Linked DNA regions of Homo sapiens: region 2 is linked to region 1. Evidence: promoter capture Hi-C in 16 types of primary human blood cells and fetal thymus (Javierre and others, 2016). All regions are on one chromosome and are shown on one strand. The core of a region is centred on a gene start or on the middle of the fragment in contact, and the rest is flanking DNA. Distances in the headings are between cores, read along the strand shown.

Region 1 (5,344 bases), core at 1,693-4,192:
TCTCTTGCCTCAGCCTGTCCCTGGATTCCCTTTCATGGGGAATGTAAAAGCTCCCTATTTAAGCTAACGTGTAGGCTGGTGGGGCTGGATGTGAGGGAGGGGCAGGTGGAGAAGGAAAGGGCAGCATCCCTCAGATCTGTGTGGAGCAGGATCGGAAGGAAAGGCACACTCGAGTCGGCCAGGACCCGGGGAAATGAGCGAGAATGGTCAGCTCTGGGGCGGTATATAAAACTGGGGGTGGGAATACTTCCATATACTCCCAATTCCACAGTGGGTGAACTGAGTAAGTTTAAAAATAAGATAAAGACATAACGAGGTGAGGCAGGTAAGTTCAAAAATAAAAATGAAGGCCAGGCACTTTGGGAGGTTGAGGCGGGCGAATCACAAGGTCAGGAGCTCGAGACCATCCTGGCTAACACGCTGAAACCCTGTCTCTATTAAAATTACAAAAAAAAAAAAAAAAAAAAAATTAGCCGGGCGTGGTGGCAGGTGCCTGTAGTCCCAGCTACTCGGGAGGCTGAGGCAGGAGAATGGCTTGAACCTGGGAGGCGGAGCTTACAGTGAGCCGAGATCGCGCCACTGCACTCCAGCCTGGGCGACAGAGCGAGACTCCATCTCAATAAAATAAAATAAAAATGAAGACATACCTTTCAGGGGCTGTGGCCGCACTGTCCAGGAGGGAGGCCCGGCCACAGACACCATGCTGGCCGTGCGCTCAGCACCTATACATACCTGGGCACCTTCCCCACAAGGTGTCACAAAAGGGAGCCCAACAGCCATTTTAAACATTTTCTTCACTCTTATGAGAATTGCCACGAACAAATCTAAGAGATCATGGCAAAGAAAAGAATGAAATGAAACCAGAACATTTCAGCAGCTTTTGCAAAGATGTCAAGAGAACCAGTCCAGGAGTCAGACTGGCGGCATCCTTCCAGCTTCTTGTCATGAATTCTAAACCTCACATCCAGACTCCAAAGCTTAGAGAGTTAAAGAATCAGCTACTGGTCACCAAGCTCACGTGTGCAGGATGAGGGTCACAGCCAGGTTGGCTGCCTTCCAGCCCTGAGCTTTCTTGGGGGTGTGTGTGTGTGTGTGTGAACCACCTTCTTTTTGAGACGGAGTTTCTTTTTTCTTTTTTGAGATGGAGTTTCGCTCTTGTTGCCCAGGCTGGAGTACAGTGGCACGATCTTGGCTCACTGCAACCTCTGCCTCCTGGGTTCAAGTGGTTCTCCTGCCTCAGCCTCCTGAGTAGCTGGGATTACAGGCATGCACCACCATGCCTGGCTAAGTTTTTGTAATTTTAGTAGAGATGGGGTTTCATCATCTTGGCCAGGCTGGTCTTGAACTCCTGACCTCAGGTGATCTGCCTGCCTTGGCCTCCCAAAGTGTTGGAATTACAGGTGTGAGCCACCGCGCCCAGCCAGAGTTTCATCTTGTTGCCCGAACTGGAGTGCAATGGTGTGGTCTAGGCTCGCTGCAACCTCTGCTTCCCGTGTTCAAGCGATTCTCCTGCCTCAGCCTCCCAAGTAGCTGGAATTACAGGTGCCCACCACCATGCCTGGCTAATTTTTGTATTTTTAGTAGAGATGGGGTTTCACCACGTTGGCCAGGCTGGTCTTGAACTCCTGACCTCAGGTGATCCACCCTTCTCGGTCTCCCAAAGTGTTGGGGTTACAGGTGTGAGCCACCACGCCCGGCCAGAACCACCTTCTTTAAAGATGATCAGGCCGGGTGTAGTGGCTTATGCCAGTAATTCCAGCGATATGGGAGGCTGAAGCAGGAGGATCACTTGAGCCCAATTCAAGACCAGGCTGGGCAACACAGGGAGACCTCTTCTCTACATAAAATACAACAATTAGCCAGGCGTGCTGGCGCCTGTGGTACCAGCTACTTGGGAGGCTGAGGCGGGAGGATCACTGGAGTCCGGGAGGTGGAGGCTGCAGCGAGCTGGGATCGCGCCACTGCAGTACAGCCTAAGCAGTGGAGTGAGACCCTGTCTCGAAAACAAATACCTAATAAAGGCAGTCAGAGGAGAGGTTTAGCAAATTGCTAAAGAACAAATCTGAGATACCGTTAGTTTCCTTACTTGCAATCTTCATCTGCCAAAATGTCAATTCTGTGAATTGCGGACTAGTCAAAAACTTAAAGAAAACCCACTTTTGTGGAGGTGGGGTCGCTTTGCGTTTCCCAGGCTGGTCTGGAACTCGGCCTGCGCCCCTCAGTGCCAGGGCTCCAGGCGACGCTCGGGTGTCGGCAGCAGAGTGGACGCAGGAGCAGCTCGGACCGCGCTCAGAACACTCGGGACGAGGCCGCGGCTCCGCAGGCCTTGCGGGCTGGGGTCCCACGAAACAAAGGCGGCAGCCAGTGGCCAGGACGGGCAGCGTGGTTCACGGGGCCGTGGCTCCCTCGGGGGTCGCGAGCTCGGCGCAAACGAGCCCCTCTACCAAGGTCGCCTAGAGTCGCGACCCCGACATGCGGAGCCGCCCCAGGGGGGTTTCTCCCGGGTCCCTCCTGTCCCGAGGCGGCCGCTTTCTCCGGGGGCCGCGCCCCGCGCCCCAGCAAGGCCCGACCCGCGCCTGCGATTCCGCCCCCAAGGCGCTGCCGCACCGGGCCCCGGCCTCTTCCTCCGAGGATTCTCAGGAATTGCTGAGACTTGCGTGCCAGTGCGAGGCCCACAACACGCACACGCGCCCGCGCCCGCCAGACCCCGCCCCCGGCACCAAGCCCCGCCTACTGGGGGAGACCACGCCCCCAAGCGAGACCTCCCTCACCGAGCCACGCCCCACCAGGCCCCGCCGCTGCGCCAAGACTGTGCTTAGCCGAGCCCCGCCCGCCGGGCCCCGCCCCGACCCCGAGACTACTCCCGCCAGGCCCCGCCCCCGCGCCGAGCCCCGCCCAGTAGTCCCCGCCCACGCACCTGACCACGCCCACGAGCCGGCTCGAACACGCCCGCGCCGCTGACTGGCGGGTGGGGTTGTCGACACGTTCAACCCGTTCTGCTGGCTCGAGAACGAAGTAGGCCGTCTCGCTCTGGGTCTCCAGGCCCGCGACCGTCCGCCAGTCGTCCCGAGGTCAGTAGCTCCAGCGGTGCGTCAGCGTCTAGCCAGGCCTCGCCCACGCCGGCCTTGGTCGGGCTTCTTGTAGACGCGGGCCTGGCGCTATTGAGGCCGTTGCTGCGCGGGCGAGTGGCGCGCTCCCGTGGCGGGGCGGGGTCGGGCGGGGCAGGGGTCCGGGGCTATCGAGGCGGGGCCGAGGTTGCGCTGGGCAGCTGCGCCGCCGGGCGGACGTGGCGCGCCTTGAGGACGTCATCGCGGTGCACGCTCCCCTTTGGGGCTTGCCGGAAGTCCTTGCCCGGGGCGCGGGGCTGCGCCTGCGTGGTTCGTCCTCACGTGGCCGTCAAGCCCTCTAGTGCCTTAGATTCCAGCGAGCTACGCAAGCAATCCTGGCCCAGCCGAGCTTGCTTCCCCAAATCCCGTAATCCTTGACCTTATTCCCCCAAAGAAGCGGCCTCCCGGGAAGGAGCGCCCTGGCGGAGAAGACTCGAACGGCTCCCACAGCCGGGCGTTGGGGGAAAGGTGGGCGGTCTTGGTCGTGCGAGGTCGGGGAGGGAGGGTCCTCCGCTCTCCATTGCGGAGCTTCGCTCCGGGACCACCGGGGGACCGGACGCCGGGCCGCGAAGCTGCCGCCTGGGGCTGCGGGGAGGAGAGCAACATAACTGGAATGGCACTTAGGGGCCGGTGTCAGGGTTGTCACCGGGGTTGGCGGAAATGACGAAGGGGCCCCAGGCACGTCGTGTTACTGGGCGAGGTTCCAGCCAAGGTGCCCACGCGCCTTGGGGGAAACCAGAGGACTTCTGCACCGTTTCCCGAGGACAGTTTGGCAGTGTTTCAGAAGGGCCTTAGAACCAGGCAGGCCCCCTTCTAGGATGGTGGAAAGCCTAAAGATCTGAAAACGGTCTCAAGTGTCGTCTTAGCGATTGGCTGACTAAACCGAATGCAAGCCGGAGACTGCACACGATGTTGCCGTTAACAGTTACACTGGGCCGGGCAGTCAGAGGCAGGCGGATCACCTGAGGTCAGGAGTTCGAGAACAGCCTGGCCAACATGGTGAAAACCCGTCTCTACTAAAAATACAAAATTAGCCGGGCGTGGTGGCAGGCGCCTATAATCCCAGCTACTTGGGAGGTTGAGGTAGGAGAATGGCTTGAACTCAGGAGGCGGAGGTTGCGGTGAGCCGAGATCGTGCCACTGCACTCCAGCCGGCTGACAAGAGCGAAACTCCTTCTCAAAAAAAAAAAAAAAAAAAAAAAGTTACATTAGGCTGGGTGCGCTGCAGCCTGTAATCCCAGCACTTTGGGAGGCCGAGGCGGGCGGATCTCTTGAGCCCAGGAGTTTGCGACCAACATACTGAGTTTGGCCAAAATAGTGAGACCCCCGTCTCTACAAAAGATAGAAAAAATTAGCCAGTTGCGGTAGTGAACGCTTGTAGTCCCAGCTACTTGGGACGCTGAGGGAGGAGGAGCACTTGAGCCCTGGAAGAGGAGGCTGCAGTGAGCTATTTTCTCATCCCTGCTATAACGAATTTGTCACAGGCTGTTTTATAGGCCTGGAGCTCAGAAGCCCGAAGTGAGTTTTAGGAGGTTAAAATCAAGGTGTTGGCAAGGGTAGTTCCTTCTGGAGTTTCCCAAGGAGAATCTGCTTCTTTTCCTCTTCCAACTTCTAGAGGCCACCTTCTTCCATCTTCAAAACCTACTGTCTCTGCATAAGAACTCTCATGATTATATGCCGGCCGCCCAGACACCCCAGGGTAGCCTTCACATCTCAATATTCTTAATATTTGCAAAGTCCCTTTTGCCACTTAAGGTAACACCACAGGTTTGGAGATTAGGAGGTGGACATCTTTCAGGGCCATTCTTATTTTAAAAAATGTACTGTCGATAAGAATAGTTAAAATGTAAAATATTTGAAGGGATTTATTCTGAATCGAATATGAGTGACCGCGGCCGGTGACACAGCCCTCAGGGGATCCTGGGAACATGTGCCCAAGGTGGTTGGGGCAGTTTGGTTTTACATGTTTTAGAGAGACATGAGGCATTAATGAAATACATTTAAGATATCCATTGGTTTGGTCCAGAAAGGCGGGACCAAACAAAAAAAAAAAGATTTTGAACATGCTTCCCGAGCTCAGGCATGAAGAACTCTTGACTGACAGAAACGGAGGGTGTGTCCAAAGTTTTGAGGACGGCCGAGCGGCGCTCCAAAACCCGTCCTCACAGCCTCGCCCCGTTCGCCTCAGCTACAACAAATCATCGTCAACCTGTTCCACCTTCTCCAGTCTGGTAGCA
Region 2 (5,344 bases), core at 1,801-4,300, 260 kb after region 1:
TTCTTTACGAATACAGCTCATCTGTGCATAACTGTCATTGGTATGACTGTTTACACTTGCAGAAACATGGATATTATTATTGTCTATTTTATTGTGTGAAGTGGCCTATGATGTGTTCTGTCATATGTCATGTTTTTATGTTTCTCAAATAAATCCCCTTTAAAAATGTAAATAGATGGCCAGGCGTGGTGGCTCATGCCTGTAACCCCAGCACTTTGGGAGGCTGAGGCGGGCGGATCACCTGAGGTCAGGAGTTTGAGACCAGCCTGACCAACATGGAGAAACCCCATCTCTACTAAAAATACAAAATTAGCCAGGTGTGGTGGCAGGCGCCTGTAATCCCAGCTACTCAGAGGGCTGAGGCAGAATTGTTTGAACCCAGGAGGTAGAGGTTGCAGTGAGCGGAGATGGTGCCATTGCACTCCAGCCTGGGCAACAAGAGTGAAACTCCGTCTCAAAAATAAAAAAATGAAAAAAAAGTAAATAAATATCTTTTAAATAATTTTAAAATTATTTTTTCCAGAAATATATTTTCAGAATTTTGATTTTTCGGGATTTCAGCATGCAGAATTGTGTCTCTCTGGGCTGTGATCAGCTCATGTCTGGGATGAGGCAGGAGCCTTGGTGGGGTGCAGGGAGAGCAGATGAGGGTAGGAGCAGGACCAGCAAGGCAGGCAGTGGTCAGAGCACTCAGGCCTTGGGGGTGAGTGAAGCCTGTTGGAGGATGCTGAGCAGCGGCAGCAACAAGACCTGATTGTTCTGGAAGACTGTCTGGGCTGCTGTGTGGAGGAGCGGTTATGGAGGACAGGTTTGAGGCTGGACTTAGGGAGGGTGGGGAGTCAGCGGGCTCGATGTACACATGAGTGTCTGAGGGAAATGGAGGCTCACACTAAGACATTTGGCCTGAGCAGCTGAGAGGGGCTGCGGAAGGTTGAAGGGTGCACCACAGGGCCTTGGGAACTTGACAGTGAGGTGGGTATAAAGGCTAGTGGTCAATAGATCCCAGCAATTGTGACTGACGAGGAACAGCTGGGGTGTCAGGCCATCTGGACCAGGGCCAAACGAGGTCTGGAGAGGGTGGGTGGAAAGACCGAGAGGGGTCTGGGGCCATGAGGTCAGGCGAGGCCTGGACGAGGTGGAAAAAACCAGGAGCTCAGACACCAGCAACCAAAGAGGAAAAGGCTGGAGAAGATGCCGGACAACTGTTCTTTGCCAGCCTAGCAGACTTGTGGGTGCTTTCCTCCAACAGGAGCAGGCCGTGGGGCTCTCACATTCATCAGCTTCCTGGTTCCTGGAGGCTGGGTCTCACCCGACCTGGAGAGCTGCAAGAGCTCCATGCTGTCACTGCAGGCCCAGGACTGAAAGATCACATTAAACTGTCCTTCCACCTAATGTTCACTCTGTGATTCTTTGTGTACGTGCACCTCCACTCCCAGACGGGGAACCTCAAGGTGGTTTCCTTTACATGCCCAGTCCCAGGGATGGCTCATGTCCGCACTGGGGCACACCAGGTCACAGATGCTGGTGGCTATTTGAATGATGAGTGGTGACAAGGATGTGGATGGATGCCTGTGTCGGGGCAGGTACCTGAGAGGGCTGGAGAAGGGAGTGGATACCCCTAGGTCTCTCTTGACTAACAATAAAGATAGGACCAGCGTCTTCGTTAGTCCTTGGTGCTGGATTCTGCCCGTCTACTGTATGTGCAGGGAGGAGAAGGGCCAAGGCTACCCCCACCGTGTCTTCCCAAGGTTCCAACTCATGCTTTTTAACCTCCAGGCACAGGCTTGGCCTGGAAGCTAAGCCCAAGAAAACAGAGCCACAAGAAGAACAAAGCAGAGGGGTTTATTATAGGAACATTCTCAAACCGCAACGGAAAAGATGTCCGTACAGGTGGATGGGGATGGAGATCCACCTCGGAGTACACAGACTTCAGGGGGCCTCCTGCCTGGCACGTTCTTTCTCTCCCGTATCACCTAAGACCCTGAGACCCCCACCCTCTGCAGGAGAGACCCACAAAGAAGCCTCCTCCCTGTGGCCTGGCTCCCATCAGGGACAGTCCTGTTTTTAGAGCAAGAACAGTCTGTACTTCAGACAGGATCCCAACCCCCACCCAAATTCAATGTCGACCGTCTGAGCAGCCAGCTTCATTGGCTGCAAACGCCTCTCTCAGGTGAGTCAAAGGAGACACGACGGGGAACCAGGGGGCCCTAGGTGAGGATGTCATGGGCCTGGTGCTCCACCAGCATCTCCATGCTCTTCACATCCGTGCACCAGAACTCCAGGCGGTCCTTCATTCCCTTGATCTGAAATGGAAATCCGGACACAAGGGACGTTAAGACACGCAGGAGACACAGGCCGAGCGGCCGGCACAGCACCTGATGGGGTGACTCTACATCTCCAGCTAACTCTCTAGGGCAGCTCTAGTAAAAAGGACCTCTGAGCTGGGGGAGTGGGACGGGACTTGCCGGGTTAATTCTTTTCACAGGAACGTTAGAAAAAACTTGCATGAAAGAAAGCAGACAAGGACAGAGGAAATCCACAGGATCGCATTTCCAGCAAATGTAAGAGCGACGTGAGCTCAAATCACAGAACCAGGAACGTATCTGATCAGAGCTCCTATCTTAAGATTAAAAGGCACCGTCAGCACAACCAGTGCCATTGTCATCATAAGCTTTTAAATGCAGGGTTCAAACCCTAGGCTTGCATTAAATTAGGCTCTTAGAAAAACCCAACAGCAGTATTTCCTTCTCCAAAACCTCTTGTCTAATAATGCTGTCTTCCCAAATGGCTTCCATCCAAATGAAACTAAGACGGTATAGACACAACCCCTCAAAATCCACAGAGGTGAATAATGGGTTTCAAACACATCACCTGTTGCAAATCCAACACTCGGGGCTGCACCCAGGTCATGTGGACTCGTTTGTCCACCTCGTCTATACTGCCTTTCACCAGCCCCACCGAAAGGGCCTTCATCACCAGAAGCTCCACCTGTGCAGAGAGGGAGGCGTGTGTAAGACAAGATAGCCTGACACACCCCCATGGACCCAGATGGCTTGTGAGAAGCAGATGCCGCTCCTCCCGTCATTTTTTACTGTCTAGGGAGCACAGCGCTCACACAAGAGCCTTGACTCCTCCATGTGGCAGCTTTGCTGCTCTAACACCCTGAGCCTAGGGACCGTACCTCATTCACTGTGATTTTAGCACTTTTGGCAATTTCTTCAAAAGTGAGTTGTCTGTGATTGGCAGGTCGTGTGAAAGTCATCTGGAAAAAATTTTATTAACTATTTTAAACTATTTTTCCAAATAAAAATAGAGAACTGATAAGGATGTTTTGTCAATATTGGCTCTGAAAATAGAGATCTTATTAGTACCCCACATACTAAAAAGTTTCCTAATATTAGACATATATCTTGTTAAGAACAAGCTTTTAATGCTTAGATAAGAAGGATAACAGCAAAATGCCTTACAGGAGTTTCTGACAGTAGCCATTGTTCAATCCCCGAACAAGTACTTGAGGCCACAATTTGCCAGGGTTGACCAGGGGTGACCACGGCAAACCAGAAATCTAAGGGCCACTTCCTGACGAAGCTTAAGTTCTAGTGGGGAAAGACAGATGTGCGTGTACACAAGAAGCGACATGCAATGAGGCAACAACTGCATCACGGGGAGAGGGGCAGCTACTTCATCTCAGTTCAGATGGTCAGGGAAGGCCTCAGGGTGGTGGCAGTGGGGTGGGAGGGTGTCGTCTGAGCTAAGAGCCAAATATAAACTTAGAAGAGCAAGTGGTAGCAAAGGAAAAGGAAGGTGGTGAAGAGAGCGGCGCACAGCAGAAGCAGCACCACTGAAAGCTCACACTGCTCAGCACAGGCTTGGAGAGTGCAGCGCCCCCACCTGACCAAAATCTGAAACCACAGACAAAGTGGCTCCTGGGTGTTCGCTTACCTCCATGAGGCACAACAACTGAATTTTCCTCAGAAGCTGGGCTTCATTAGCTGCTAAATCAGGCTGTAAAGTATAGAAAGACAGAAAAATGTCTTCCATGTTTGTGCTTATCAGTTACTTAACTGGGGATCTGGAATTCGTTCTATAACAGTAGACCCAACAAAAACCAGCTAAGCAGATCCAAACATTTCACATTGCAGACTGCTGAAGCTCATTAACAACAAGTGATCTGAGCTTCATTCTTCTTAGGAAATGGAAAGAGTCGCACCTAACTGGGACACTTTGTCAAGGCAAGGAATTTACAAGGTAAGATTTGTATTAATGCTACAGACACCATTAGGCAGGGCCACAGGGTACGGGCATTTCGAGAAGACTCTCCTGGTCAAGGTGCTGTTGGGAAGGATACACCCTACTGCCCAGGGGGGTTCTTTCAAGGGCTGCTGCCGGCTCAGTGAGCCAGTGCAAGTGGAGCCCCTCTGAGGAAAAGCTTCCTTAAGTTCTAGAGACTTGTTCTGAATCAAAAGAGCAAGTTATTAATTTATAATGAAAAATATCATTGTCCTGAGAACTAGAATATACGCTTCTGCAAGATATGCATCATCTCTTCTTATGGATCAAAACGTTACCTGTGAGCACAGAATTAAACCAAGGAGACTTGTTGTTTTAATTCAAATAGCAACTCATATCCTGACACAGGTAGCCCCGATGGGGACATTTCTGCCACAAGTACTGGACAGGTCAAGCTCTGTAAAGGGCTCACTACCCCTCCAGACAGGCTTTGCTGCCTGAATAGATGCTGCCAACATGCATCTACGATTTTTTTTTTTTCTTTAAATTGCTATAACTAGCCATCTTCCTTTCTGAGTGTCACCTTTTTTTGAGATATCAATAAATAATCAGACCACAGTTAGGTCTGGCTGCATCTGTGCTTTCTGCCTCTTCACAGTGCCTTCATCTATATCTACCCTGCTCCACTATGCATGAATTTTACAAGTTTATTTTAAACTGAGAAAATTGAAAGTTTCAGAAAAATACAAAAATAACCATAATTCCTACCACAGTTAACATTTTATTAATATTTACTTCTAATAATCTCATTAAAAAAGAACATACTTATCATTAAAGCTCAAGCCCTTGTTGAGCACCTTTCCCTAACTCCCACCTTCCAGAGACAACTTCACCCAGTGCCTGCCCTCCCCTTGCACTGAGGTGAATTGGCTGTTCTCCCTGCATGGACCTCTCCCTCTCCCCGCACCCGCCGCTCTCCCCCTCCCCGCACCCGCCGCTCTCCCCCTCCCCGCACCCGCCGCTCTCCCCCTCCCTGCACCCACCGCTCTCCCATTCTCTTCACCAGGCATTTGTTCCTCCTTCATCCCATGCTCTCTCCCACCCACTCATGTTA

What was found. Contacts are between HindIII fragments. The CHiCAGO score rates a contact against its expected background, and 5 or more counts as called.
Region 2: a contact is called between a fragment that was not itself captured here and the fragment with the promoter of RNH1 in region 1, in 2 of 17 cell types (total CD8 T cells and total CD4 T cells). The highest score is 5.5, in total CD8 T cells.

What each region holds. Positions count from the first base shown.
Region 1 is chr11:504,840-510,183 of GRCh38, reverse strand. RNH1 (ribonuclease/angiogenin inhibitor 1) reads left to right here and starts at 2,942. Exons shown (of 11, transcript NM_203387.3): 1 at 2,942-3,071; 2 at 5,188-5,344. It also overlaps a transcript of LRRC56 not described here. RefSeq lists a cis regulatory region at 3,588 and an enhancer at 3,504-3,673. The HindIII fragment of the contact is 5,455 bases long and covers 980-5,344 here.
Region 2 is chr11:249,464-254,807 of GRCh38, reverse strand. It overlaps PSMD13 (proteasome 26S subunit, non-ATPase 13), which reads right to left. Exons shown (of 13, transcript NM_002817.4): 10 at 3,943-4,005; 11 at 3,182-3,262; 12 at 2,872-2,988; 13 at 1,824-2,303. The coding sequence ends at 2,208. It also overlaps the pseudogene COX8BP. Among named protein-coding and RNA genes, the nearest start is that of PSMD13, 15 kb to the right of the region's middle. The HindIII fragment of the contact is 753 bases long and covers 2,674-3,426 here.